Linked DNA regions of Homo sapiens: region 1 is linked to region 2. The links are contacts of gene promoters, found by promoter capture Hi-C in human tissues and cell types (Jung and others, 2019). All regions are on one chromosome and are shown on one strand. The core of a region is centred on a gene start or on the middle of the fragment in contact, and the rest is flanking DNA. Distances in the headings are between cores, read along the strand shown. Region 1 has its middle 23 kb from the start of AGXT. Region 2 holds the start of STK25 (serine/threonine kinase 25).

Region 1 (6,588 bases), core at 1,125-3,624, 660 kb before region 2:
GGGGGAGCAGGTGATCGGAATGAGTCAGGGGGAGCAGGTAATCAGAATGAGTCGGGGGAGCAGGTGATCGGAATGAGTCTGGGTGAAGTAGGTAATCAGAATGAGTCGGGGGAGCAGGTGATCGGAATGAGTCAGGGTGGAGTAGGTAATCAGAATGAGTCGGGGGGAGCAGGTGATCGGAATGAGTCTGGGTGAAGTAGGTAATCAGAATGAGTCGGGGGAGCAGGTAATCAGAATGAGTCAGGGTGGAGTAGGTAATCAGAATGAGTCGGGGGGAGCAGGTGATCGGAATGAGTCTGGGTGAAGTAGGTAATCAGAATGAGTCGGGGGAGCAGGTGATTGGAATGAGTCAGGGGGAGCAGGTGATCGGAATGAGTCAGGGGGAGCAGGTGATCGGAATGAGTCTGGGTGAAGTAGGTAATCAGAATGAGTCGGGGGAGCAGGTGATTGGAATGAGTCAGGGGGAGCAGGTGATCGGAATGAGTCAGGGGGAGCAGGTAATCAGAATGAGTCGGGGGAGCAGGTGATCGGAATGAGTCTGGGTGAAGTAGGTAATCAGAATGAGTCGGGGGAGCAGGTGATCGGAATGAGTCAGGGTGGAGTAGGTAATCAGAATGAGTCGGGGGGAGCAGGTGATCGGAATGAGTCTGGGTGAAGTAGGTAATCAGAATGAGTCGGGGGAGCAGGTGATTGGAATGAGTCAGGGGGAGCAGGTGATCGGAATGAGTCGGGGGGAGCAGGTGATCGGAATGAGTCTGGGTGAAGTAGGTAATCAGAATGAGTCGGGGGAGCAGGTGATGGGAATGAGTCAGGGGGAGCAGGTGATCGGAATGAGTCTGGGTGAAGTAGGTAATTGAAAATGTTGCTTTATGAGGAAGTTAAGTTTAACAGTAGAAGGCAAAGAATTGAACATACTGACATATTGATTCTTTGACTAGAAATTTAGAACTTATATCTAACAACCCCCTCTTGACCAAGGAGACTCCACTGAAACCTGAAAAGCTGAATTCCCAGCCATGACAGGAAGTGGGGTCAGACATACCTCCTTATTCTCCCTCCGTTTTGGGATTTAGGCACAGCTGAGCAGCACTAACCTTAAAGTAGAGATCATGAGAGTGATAGAGCAGACTCCTTGTGGCAATAAGACACCAAATTCCAGCTTGACTCTGGTGTAACCTCACACGACAGATGGCAGACCCTGAAGGAAATAAAAGTATTTTACTCCAAACTATATTTCTTTGACATATTTTGAGATGGCCCTGCAAAGCCATCTTTTGTGGGGGAAATTTGCATCTGTAGAGAATCTCCATTAATGCAGCCAGGCCTTCCTTTCTAGTCCTTTCCCGGATCTAAGGGAGATTAAATGAGGGTCTGACACTTTCAAAGTCTGAAAACAGACATTCACCTTCTATTCTCTCTGAAGACTGCGACCTGGGAGGCTTCAACTGCATAACAAGAACCGTGCTCTCCACAACCCCCTTATCTTAACCCAAGCCTTTCTTTCTACTGACTTCAAGTCTTTAAACAAAGTCTAGCTCTTTCAACCAATTGTCAATCAGAAAATCTTTGAATCCATCTGTGACCTGTAAGCACCCCAACTTGGAGATGTCCCATCTCTTTAGGCAATTTACACCTTCCATGTATTGATTTATGTCTTTGCCTGTAACGTCTGTCTCCCTAAAATGTATAAAACCGAGCGGTGACCCGACTCCCTGGGCACACTTTCTCAGGAACTCTTGAGACTGTTCCCCGGGCCATGGTCACTCATATTGGCTCAGAAGAAACCTCTTTAAATATTTTATGGAGTTTGGTTTTTCTTTGAACAGGTTACAGAAAGAATGGAGGCTCAAGCACGGCCAAAAACAGATCCCAGTGGCATGGCAGGTTTTGGGAGGGGGAGAAGAGGAGGCCAGGCTCACCAGGTTAGGGGACCTCACAGCTAGCAAATGGTAAATGCTGCTTTTAGCCTTTAAGGGTGACAGACTGATATGGTTTGGCTCTGTGTCCCCACTCAAATCTTACCTTGAATTTTAATAACCACCACATGTCAAGGGTGGAACCAAGTGCAGATAATTGAATCACAGGAGTGGTTTCTGCAATGCTGTTCTCCTGATAGTGAGTGGGTTCTCACAAGATCTGATGATTTTATAAGGGGCTTCACTTGGCATTCCTTCTCCTTCCTGCCATCATGTGAAGAAGGACATGTTTGCTTCCCCTTCCACCATGATTGTAAATTTCCTGAGGCCTCCCCAGCCCTGTGGAACTGTAAATCAATTAAACCTCCTTCCTTTGTAAATTACCCAGTCTCAGGCAGTTCTTTAATGCAGCATGGGAAGGGAGTAATATCGTAAACTCTTACCACAGAGAGTGGGGTGCTTCTGTAAAGATACCCAAAAATGTGGAAACAACTTTGGAACTGGGTAACAGGCAGAGTTTGGAACAGTTTGGAGGGCTCAGAAGAAGACAGGAAAATATGGGAAAGTTTGGAACTTCCTAGAGACTTGGAGGGTTCAGAAGACAGAAAGATGTGGGAAAGTTTGGAACTTCCTGGAGAATTATTGAATGGCTTTGACCAAAATGCCAATAGTGATATGGACAACGAAGTCCAGGCTGAGGTGATCTCAGATGGAGATGGGGAACTTGTTGGGAATGGGAATAGAGGTTACTCTTGCTGTGCAAAGAGACTGGGGGCATTTTGACCCTGCCCTAGAGATCTATGGAAAGCTGAACTTGAGAGAGATGATTTAGTGTATCTGGTGGAAGAAATTTCTAAGTGGCAAACTGTTCAAGAGGAAGCAGAGCATAAAAGTTTGAAAAATTTGCAGCCTGATGATGCAATGGAAAAGAAAACCCATTTTCTGGGGAGAAATTCAAGCCAGCTTCAGAAATTTGCATAAGTAATGAAGAGCTGAGTGTTAATCACCAAGACAATGAGGAAAATGTCTCCAGAGCATGTCAGAGACCTTCACAGCAGCCCCTTCCATCAAGGGCCCAGAGGCCTAGGAGGGAAAAAGGGTTTCCTGAGTTGGGTCCAGGGCCCCCCTGCTGTGTGCAGCCTTGGAACTTAGTGCCCTTCGTCCCAGCCACTCCAGCCATGGCTAAAAGGAGCCAACATACAGCTCAGGCCATTGCTTCAGAGGGTGCAAGCCCTAAACCTTGGCAGCTTCCATGTGCTAATGGGCTTGTGGGTGCCCAGAAGTCAAGAATTGAGGTTTGGGGAGCTCCCAATCCCTAGATTTCAGAGGATGTATGGAATTTCCAGAATGTCCAGACAGAAGTTTGCTGTAGGGCAGAGCCCTCATGGAGAACCTCTACTAGGGCAGTACAGAAGGGACTGTGGGGTCAGAGCCCCCACACAGAGTCCCCACTGGGGCACTGCCTAGTGGAGCTGTGAGAATAAGGCCACCATCTTCCAAACTCCAGAATGGTAGATCCACCGACACCTTGCGCTGTACATCTGGAAAAGCTGCAGACACTCCATAGCCAGCCCATGAGAGCAGCCAGGTGGGGGGAGGGGAGGTGTTGTACCCTGCAAAGCCACAGGGGCAGAGTTGCCCAAGGCCATGGGAGACCACCTCTTGCATAAGCATGACCTGGATGTGAAACATGGAGTCAAAGGAGATCATTCTGGAACTTTAAGGTTTAATGACTGCCCTGTTGGATTTCAGACTTGCATGGGGCCTGTAGCCCCTTTGTTTTGGTCAATTTCTCCCTTTTGGAATGGGTGTATTTACCCAATTCCTGTACCCTCATTGTATCTAGGAAGTAACTAACAAGCTTTTGATTTTACAAGCTCATAGACAGAAGGGAATTGCCTTGTCTCACATGAGACTTTGGACTTGGACTTTTGTGTTAATGCTGAAATGAGCTAAGACTTTGGGGGACTATTGGGAGGGCATGATTGTGTTTGAAATGTAAGGATACGAGATTTGGGAGGGGCCGGGGTGGAATGATATGGTTTGGCTCTGTGTCCCCACCCAAATCTCACCTTGAATTGTAATAATCCCCATGTGTCAAGGGCAGAACCAGGTGGAGGTAACTGAATCATGGGGGCAATTTCTGCCATGCTTTTCTCATGATAGTGAGTGAGTTTTCATGGGATGTGATGGTTTTATAAGGGGCTTCCTCATTTGCTTGGCACTCTTTCTCCTTCCTGCCTCCATGTGAAGAAGGATGTCTTTGCTTCCCCTTCTGCCATGATTGTAAGTTTCCTGAGGCCTCCCCAGCCCTGCATAACTGTGAGTCAATTAAACCTCCTTCCTTTAAAAAATTACCCAGTCTCAGGCAGTTCTTTATGATAGCGTGAGAACAGGCTAATACAGACTCTCAGCTTATCTTTCCTAAATACAGAAAAATGAGGGCCTCAGCAAAAGCCTGGCTGCATCAATGCAGGTTTTCTATACAGATGCAAATTTCCCCACAAAAGAAAGCTTTGCAGGGCTGCTTCTGTTTTCAGGCCCTCTGAACAGCCATCTCAAAATATGTCAAAGAAGTTTATTTGTGGGGGATATATTTTGGTTTCCTTTCTGGTGGAAGCTCAGATCCTGGGGGAAGGTGAGCCTCCAGGCCTGCCTCCTTCTCTCCCTCTCCGCTGCCCAGAAACTCCTGGGACAGGGAGTCTGGACCCTGGTGAGAGAATCTGAGAGAGTGGGCTGGCCAGGCAGCCAGGGCAGGGCAGCCACACAGCCCTGCAGAGAGCACTGGCCGGACCTGTGGCACAGCTGGCCTCCTGCCAGGAGCTGCCCGTGTGCCAGGCACCATGGCCAATCCCTTCCCTGTCAACCCTAAATAAAGAGATTCAGAAAACAGGATGAAATGGACAGTTAACTTGAGCACAGAGCATAAGGACAGCCACCTGGGAGCACAGACTCCAAAGAGTGGGAGTTGGTGCTCCGAAGTTCTGGGGGCTATTTGTATAGATAAGGTTTGGGAAGCTTAACAGGTGATATGGTTTGGCTGTGTCCCCACCCAAATCTCATCTTGAATTGTAGTTCCCATAATTCCCAGATGTCATGGGAAGAACCCAGTGGGAGGTAACTGAATCATGGGGACAGTTTCCCCTATCCTGTTCTCATGATAGTGAGTGAGTTATCATGAGATCCTATGGTTTTATAAGAGGCTCTTCCCCCTTCACTCTGCACTTCTCTCTCCTGCCACCATGTGAAGAAGGACTACAGTTGTACATTCGAGGTAAGGAACACCGTTGGGCATTAGAGGGAGAGGAGCACCACTGTACTTTAGAGGGTGAGGTGCACCATTAGGCATTAGAGAGTGAGGAGCATGGTTGTGCATTAGAGTGTGACAAGCACCATTGTACATTAGAGGGTGAGGAGCACCGTTGTACATTAGAAGGTGAGGAGCACCATTGTGCGTTAGAGGGTGAGGAGCACCGCTGTACATTAGAGGGTGGGGAGCACCACTGTGCGTTAGAGGGTGAAGAGCACCGCTGTGCGTTAGAGGGTGGGGAGCACCGCTGTACGTTAGAGGGTGGGGAGCACCGCTGTGCGTTAGAGGGTGAAGAGCACCGCTGTGCGTTAGAGGGTGGGGAGCACCGCTGTGCGTTAGAGGGTGGGGAGCAGGGCTGTGCGTTAGAGGGTGGGGAGCACCGCTGTGTGTTAGTGGGTGGGGAGCACCACTGTGCGTTAGAGGGTGGGGAGCACTGCTGTGCATTAGAGGGTGAAGAGCACTGTTGTGTTAGAGAGTGGAGAGCACTGCTGTGTGTTAGAGGGTGAGGAGCACTGCTGTGCATTAGAGGGTGGGGAGCACTGCTGTGTGTTAGAGAGTGGGGAGCACTGTTGTGTTAGAGGGTGGGGAGCATCACTGTACATTAGAGGGTGGGGAGCACCGATGTGTGTTAGAGGGTGGGGAGCACCGCTGTGTGTTAGTGGGTGGGGAGCACCGCTGTGCGTTAGAGGGTGGGGAGCACTGCTGTGTGTTAGAGGGTGGGGAGCACTGTTGTGTTAGAGAGTGGAGACCACTGCTGTGTGTTAGAGGGTGGGGAGCACCGCTGTACATTAGAGGGTGGGGAGCACTGCTGTGTGTTAGAGGGTGGGGAGCACCGCTGTACATTAGAGGGTGGGGAGCACTGCTGTGTGTTAGAGGGTGGGGAGCACTGTTGTGTTAGAGGGTGGAGAGCACTGCTGTGTGTTAGAGGGTGAGGAGCACTGCTGTGCGTTAGAGGGTGGGGAGCACCACTGTACATTAGAGGGTGGGGAGCACTGCTGTGTGTTAGAGAGTGGGGAGCACTGTTGTGTTAGAGGGTGGGGAGCACCGCTGTACATTAGAGGGTGGGGAGCACTGCTGTGTTAGAGGATGCGGAGCACTACGGTACATTAGAGGGTGGGGAGCACTGCTGTGTTTTAGAGGGTGGGGAGCACTGTTGTGTTAGAGGGTGGAGAGCACCGCTGTACATTAGAGGCTGAGAGCACTATTGAAGTTTAAAGGGTGTATTAGTCATTCTCACCTGCTCTTAAGGAATACCCAAGACTGGATAATTTACAAAGGAAAGAGGTTTAATTGACTCACAGTTCTGCATGTGGGGAGGCCTCAGGAAACTTACAATCACGGCAGAAGGAGAAGTAAACTCGT
Region 2 (6,580 bases), core at 1,552-4,051:
CAAGCCAAGGCAAGCCATCCCCACCCCCACCTGGAGAAGAAAGGGTAAGTGGGCCCCTGGCCTGGAGGCTGCGAATCCTCTTTTGGATGTAGCAGCAGCTGTGGCCTGGATGATCACTCGGGCCACTCAGCTGACTCGAGCGGTGGACACCTGTTCTCCACATTAGCCCTGGGGCTGCCAGGTCTGGGGCCTCCACTTGCCAATGTGTCTGCTGTCAGTGTTGCCCCACAAAACAAGGGGAATGACCCAGCACACATAGCTGAGTGGTGATACAGTGCTCTGGCACCCCACAGCCATTCGGGCCCTCCAGGGCCAGGCAGGAACTGGCCAGGTAGAGGGGAGAAGTCTAAGGCAGGAGCACAGGCTATGGGGGGAACGCGCCCCACTCTCCCACAAAGGGGCTGCCCCACAGGTCCACAGGACACCATGGCAACCATCTCAGGAGAAAACCACAGCCCCTCAGGTTTTCTGCCACTATATGAAGTCAAGTCTCTCATCATCCAGGCTGGGACAAAGGGATCCCTAAAAGGACAAAAGGAGCTTCCTACCTTTGGAATCCCTTCTCCAATGTGCCCGCACTCCCTTCCCTGTGTGCGATCGCACCAAGAACCAATAGCACACAGTTACAGGGCACCTCGGAGCTCCAATTTCTCATCCTGTGACCCAAAGGAGTTATTTCTGCAGTTCTTAAAAATAAACTGGTGGCCGAGCGCGGTGGCTCATGCCTGTAATCCCAGCACGTTGGGAGGCCAGGGCAAGCAGATCACCTGAGGTCAGGAGTTTGAGACCAGCCTGACCAACATGGTGAAACTCCGTCTCTACTAAAAATACAAAATTAGCTGGGCATGGTGGCGCATGCCTGTAATCCAAGCTACTTGGGAGGCCAAGACAGGAGAATCGCTTGTACTTGGGAGGCAGAGGGTGCAGTGAGCTGAGATTGCACCATTGCACTCCAACCTGGGCAACAAAAGCGAAACTCCGTCTCAAAAAAATAAAAATAAAGTAAAATAAACTGGTGGCAGATTTTTCTCCCAGCACCTTAGTCATGTAAGTTACCAGATACAGAATGCCAAAAGCAAACCAAAAATCTGTTAGCTTAATTCAGCAACAGTCAGCAAGCCCCAGTCTCATCTGTGACCACGCAGGTCCAGGTTGCCTGGCCCAACAGCTGCACATGGTGTTCCGGGTCTCTAGGCTGGTCCGGTTTCCTCCAAAGCAGCCCTGACTCCAGTTCCTGCCCCTACGCGAACAGACGCCCTTCCTGTTCCACTGCAGGCCCAACTCTCCATTCAGCACATAGGAGTGAACAAGGAGGGCCACACATTTTAGCGGCGATTCCAACGCCTTAGGTAGAGCCAAGGCATCAAGGAGAATAAAACCGAACAGCTAAGATGTAAGAAAACCCAGCGGCCAGAGTCAAAAAAGTGGGGAGGGGTAGAGAATGCAAGTCCCCAGGCCCCAGGTTGGCTGACCCCACCCTCCTTCCCCGGCAAGCCCTTTGGCACCAGCAGCTGGTCCTCATTCCAGGCTAAGGGCTCGCCGTAGTGGCTCCCTCCGAGGCTGTCCCACCAGACGCTTAAAGGTGGCTCCATAGTGGAAACGACTTCTTTAAAGAAGAAAGATGAGTCTCATGTTCGGGCAACCGCCCGTCGCAGGGGTTAAACGGTCCTGACAGAGCAGCCTTTTCACCCTCCCCTGGGCCAAAGCACACACGTGTTCTCTGCTTTCCCTGCACACCGGCCACTCAGATCTGCTTCTCCACAATCTCAGCCCCTCAGCGCCCGCCAGGGTCTCCCCTACAGCCCCTGCCCAGCCCAACACGGCCAGAATGACCCGCGGCCCAGGCCGAGGCCGCAGGGTGGCCCCCGACCTTCCACTGCCTTCGGATGCTGACATGAGGTTCCCGCCCCGCGCTGGGGGCAGCGCCCCGTCCCTGCGCCGGTGTCTCTTCACGCACCTCCACCGCCCTCGCACAGGCGGAGCCACCAGGGGCTCGGTTTCTAGAGGCCTGCGAGCTTCTGCCACGCAAAACGCCACAGGCACACGGCAGAGCCCCGGGGCCGCCCTGCGCCCACCTCAGGACGGCTCCGCTGGTCGCACGACGCGCGCTCCTTCCCTCACCCCACTGCCCGCTCCGGCGTGGCGCTCCCCTCTGAACCCCCAGGAGACTCTGGAGCCCCTCGGTGAGAGGCCGCTAGTCTTCCTGACCTGCACCCTTCTCACCTGGTTGGCAAATCCCCGGAGGTGAGCCATGGCCGCGCCGCCTCAGACCCTCCGCCAGCAGCCCCAGGAGGCGTCTGGATCCCGCGGAGAGGCGCGGAGCCGGCTAGCTCGCCCCTGCGGCGTCAGTCCACTGCGAGGGACACCAGGGGCGCTCGGTGCCCAGTTCAGTCATCTGAGACCGACCTCCGGGGCGGCGGGCTCCATGGGTGGGGGGGGGCCCAGGAGACCCCCCAGGCCGCCGGGGCCCCGCCACGCCCGGGCCTAACGCCCAGGCTCCCGGGGGCTCGCCGCCCCTCCCGTCGCCGCCCCCACCTCTTCCAAGGCAGCTTCCTCCCGGTGCCCCCGCCCCGGTGTCCCCGCCACCGAGCCCCGCCCCGGGCCCCTCCCTCTGCCCCCTCCCCAATCGCCGCAAGCGCCCCGCCCGGCAGCGCGCCCACCTCCGCGGGGCTCCATCCCGGCCTCCCCCGGCCCGCTCTGCAGCGCCCGCGAAGGCTCCCACCCGCAGCCTCTGTTCGCCCGGGGACCCCGGGCCTCCCAGCCCGCGAAGCAACGGTGGTGGCGGCAGCGACCGGAGAAAGCCCGGAGGCGACGGCGAGGGCGGTGCTCGGCGTCGCGGCCCGCGCACGGCTCTCTGGGACCCCGAGTCCCACCGCCCACTCCGGGCCCGGAAGCCTGCTGGCGTTGGACTACAAGTCCCGGCAGGCTGCGCGAGAGGGGGCCGGGGCTCGCATGCGCGCCGCGAGGCTCTCTGGGACCCCTAGTCCTGCTCCCGAAAGGTTTGGACTGCGTCTCCCGGCAGGCCGCGCGCCTGGGCGGGCGGGGCACGTGGTCGTTGTCGCGTCGCGCCCTCCCTGCCTCGCCCTCGCGGGTCTTCTGCGTTTGCTGGCGCCTGCCAGGCGTCGTCTCCGACGTTACGGCGGCCGCGCGGCCCTCTCCCTTGGGCTCTGCCCTGCGCAGCCCTGGTTCGAGCGGGCCAGTGAGGCCCGGCGCCCTCCCCGCCTCGCCACGAGGATCCACCGCGGCCGCCCAGGCTTCTAGCCTTGTCGTCACGGCACGGAGATAAGCCCGCGCTGGCCACATCGCGAAGCCCCTGTTCGTACTGAGACCCCGCCCGGGATCACGCGCACAGGCCAGGGCGCACCAGGCCTTGGAGAAGCTACCGGCACAGCCCATTCCTTGGGCGAGTTGCTTCGCCTCTCCTGCCTCAGTTTCCTTACCTGTCAAGGGGTGGTCATAGGACGTCCTTGGTCACACCGTTGTGGGACCCACCTGGGCTAGAGCGCGGGACGCGCCCAGGACAGTGACTGCTGCTGGAAGCCGTCATGGCACTCCCCAGGGTCCGGGAGGGACTTGCAGATCCCAAGGCTACCTGGTGCGTCCCCGTGCCCCGTGGGCCGCCAGGTCATAGTGCCCCCTGTGTGCATTCCCCTAGTGCACCGCAGGGATCCCCACCTGTCCGGTGAGGAAGATTTGTCCCTCCTGCATACTGTGTCCACCCTTACAGGCCCTCACTCTCCATGATGGCTCAGCACAGGTGACTATCCTGACCTCCTCACATCCCTCCTTCTTCGAGAGGGTTCTGGCGTTTCTCTCTGCTCCCTGGTGCGTGTCTTCTCATGGTGCACTGCCGAGTCCTTTAAGAAGCTATGCTTCCCTGTCATGCGTCCAGGACAGCCCCTTGAACCCCTCCTGGGTCCGCATCTCTCATCACCCCTGCTTCTTTACGTACTGACTTGGCTTTGTTTGTGCTTTGACTCCCCAGGAGAAAGTGGGCTTCCTGCAAGCGGAGCTGTGCCCAGGACCATGCCAGCCCACGGCAGGCGCTCAGTAATGTTTGTTGAATGAATGTGTAAATGCATGAAGATAATATATGTATTTAATGCATGTAAATAGATGCCTGCTGCATCTCTGGCCTTCGTGTGGTCAGTAATCGCTGCACTTTTCCGAAGTGCCTAGAAGAGGCTGGGAGCAGTGGCTCACACCTGTAATCCCAGCACTTTGGGAGGCTGAGGCAGGCAGATCACTTGAGGTTGGGAGTTCGGGGCCAGCCTAGCCAACATGGTGAAACTTCATCTCTACTAAAAATACAAAAATTAGCCAGGCATGGTAGTGCGTGCCTGTAGTCCCAGCTACTAGGGAGGCTGAGTCAGGAGAATCGCTTGAACCTGGGAGTTGGAGGTTGCTGTGAGTCAAGATCATGCCACAGTACTCCAGCCTGGGAGACCGAGCAAGGCTCTGCCTCAAAAAACAAATTAATAAAAGTGCCTAGAAGAGTTTTTCAGCCTTTGCCTGCTTTTGGCCAATTGTTAACCCTTTGCTCCTGGCTGCTGTCTTGCTAAGCTGCCGTCCGGACGTGATCATCACCATGTCTTTTCCTGCATTGACCTTCCAGGCCCTTCATCCCGTTTCTCTTGTTTTCCATTTCTTTTTTGTTGTTGTATACTTCTGTTATTCTTCGGGGTTTTTGTTTGTTTGTGTGTTTGTTTTGAGACGGAGTCTCACTCTGTCTCCCAGGCTGGAGTGCAGTGGTGCGATCTTGGCTCACTGTAACCTCCGCTTCCCAGGTTCAAGCGATTCTCCTGCCTCAGCGTCCTGAGTAGCTGGGATTATAGGCGTGCGCCACCACCCCCGGCTAATTTTTGTATTTTGAGTAGAGACGGGGTTTCATCATGTTGGTCATGTTGGTCAGGCTAGTCTCAAACTCCTGACCTCGTGATCTGCCCACCTCTGCCTCCCAAAGTGCTGGGATTACAGGCATGAGCCACCACGCTCGGCCTTATTCTTCGGTTTTATCTTTCAACTTTCATATAAAAATTTTCTTTTCAGTGATTCTTTCTTTTTTTTTCCCAGATAAGGTCTTACTCTGCCACCCAGGCTGGAATGCAGTGCGGCAATTTTGGCTTACTGCAACCTCGACCTCCCAGGCTCAAGCAGTTCTCCCACCTCAGCTCCCCATGTAGCTGGGTCCACAGGCACATGTCACCACACCCAGCTAATTTTTGTGGAGACGGGGTCTCCCCATGCTGTCCAGGCTGTTCTCAAACTCCTGAGCTCAAGTGATCCTTCCGCCTCAGCCTTCCAAAGTGCTTTCAGAGTACAGGTGTGAGCCACTGAGCCTGGTCTCTATTTTTCACCTCCAAGAAATTTTAGTTTTTTCTCTGGGCACTCACTTTCTTCCTTGGGAATATGGCGCTAATAGTACTTTTCTTGTAGATTGTGAGAATAACACCGTATGTGGCGGGCCTGGCCCTTGGCAGGTGCTCAGAGAGTCACTGTGTTTATTATTGACAAGGCTGACCTTGGGTGGGAGGAGGGAACACTCACAATTGAGCCCCTTGGGCAGCTTACCTTCAGGTCCAGTCACTTGGTGACTGCAACAGCCCTCCGAGGCAGGCAAGGGATAACTAAGAGGTAAAGGGACGTGCCCAAGGCCACAACCAGAATATGGCAAAGACAGGATTGAACCCAGGTCTCCTGAGTCCTGTTTGTATGCTGCTGGGAATTCAGGTAGGAGTGGAGAGAAGCTGGAGTTGGACTTTGTGTCAACCTGGGTCAGGTGTGAGTTGGCCAAGCCACCCTCTGGTTTGACAGACAAGGAAATGAAACCCAGAAAGAGGACAGCATAGCAGCATCTGGATTAGAACTGGGTTCCCCTTCTGATTAAGATAAGAGATCGGGCACTTGAGCTTGTTCTTCTTTCCCTACCAGGGACCTGATAACTTGTCAAAAGGGGCTCAGGAAGGGAGGCTAAACCCTGAAACTGTTCAGAGAAAGGAGTGGGTTCCCAGCAGGTGAGTGCCACAAATGTCCAGAGGTAAAGCTTGGTGACAGTGAAATGGGGGGAAGAAGCCTTCACTTGAGCCCCCTCCATTGGATACAGAGCCCTGGAAAGGTGAGGGGCTGGAGCTGGGGGAGAGGAGGTCGACAGCAGAGACACCATGGAGACAGGTATGTGCATGAGTCAACAGCTTCCCACTCCTCATCCCTCCATCCCCTCACACACACAAATCATACAGCAACAGGGTTTCCTAGCATAAATAATGTGGGGGTATTCCAGAAAAAGACACCCCTGTAAGGTGGGATTTAGGCTGGCCTGAGAGTGGGCTTCCTACACAGTCTCTACAGCAAAGCCCAGCGCTTGACAAGTCCTGCTTTTGAATGCAAACTCCTTGTGAGCTTCCTAACACCTCAGTCTTAGTCTCTTTAAGACTGCTAAGGATATTGGGTATTTGGGAAGACTTTCAACATGAACAATAGAGACCAACGTAAATTAGAAAGATGACGTGAGAAGAAATAGAAACACAGAGAAATGAAGAGCATTCTGGAACCTCGTTAGAACATTCCTAGAACAAACACA

What was found. Contacts are between HindIII fragments. The study calls those that stand out against the background at their distance.
Region 1: a fragment that was not itself captured here is called in contact with the fragment with the promoter of STK25 in region 2 in 1 of the 25 tissues and cell types used here (dorsolateral prefrontal cortex).

Annotation. Positions count from the first base shown.
Region 1 is chr2:240,842,688-240,849,275 of GRCh38, forward strand. No RefSeq gene overlaps it. Among named protein-coding and RNA genes, the nearest start is that of AGXT, 23 kb to the right of the region's middle. The HindIII fragment of the contact is 3,458 bases long and covers 646-4,103 here.
Region 2 is chr2:241,505,783-241,512,362 of GRCh38, forward strand. STK25 (serine/threonine kinase 25) reads right to left here and starts at 2,802. Exons shown (of 12, transcript NM_001271977.2): 1 at 2,661-2,802; 2 at 2,224-2,353. The coding sequence starts at 2,253. LOC107985788 (a long non-coding RNA gene) reads left to right here and starts at 3,090. Exons shown (of 2, transcript XR_001739177.2): 1 at 3,090-3,315; 2 at 3,656-4,113. RefSeq lists enhancers at 1-471, 1,627-1,676 and silencers at 2,107-2,156, 2,437-3,206. The HindIII fragment of the contact is 21,130 bases long and covers 1-6,580 here.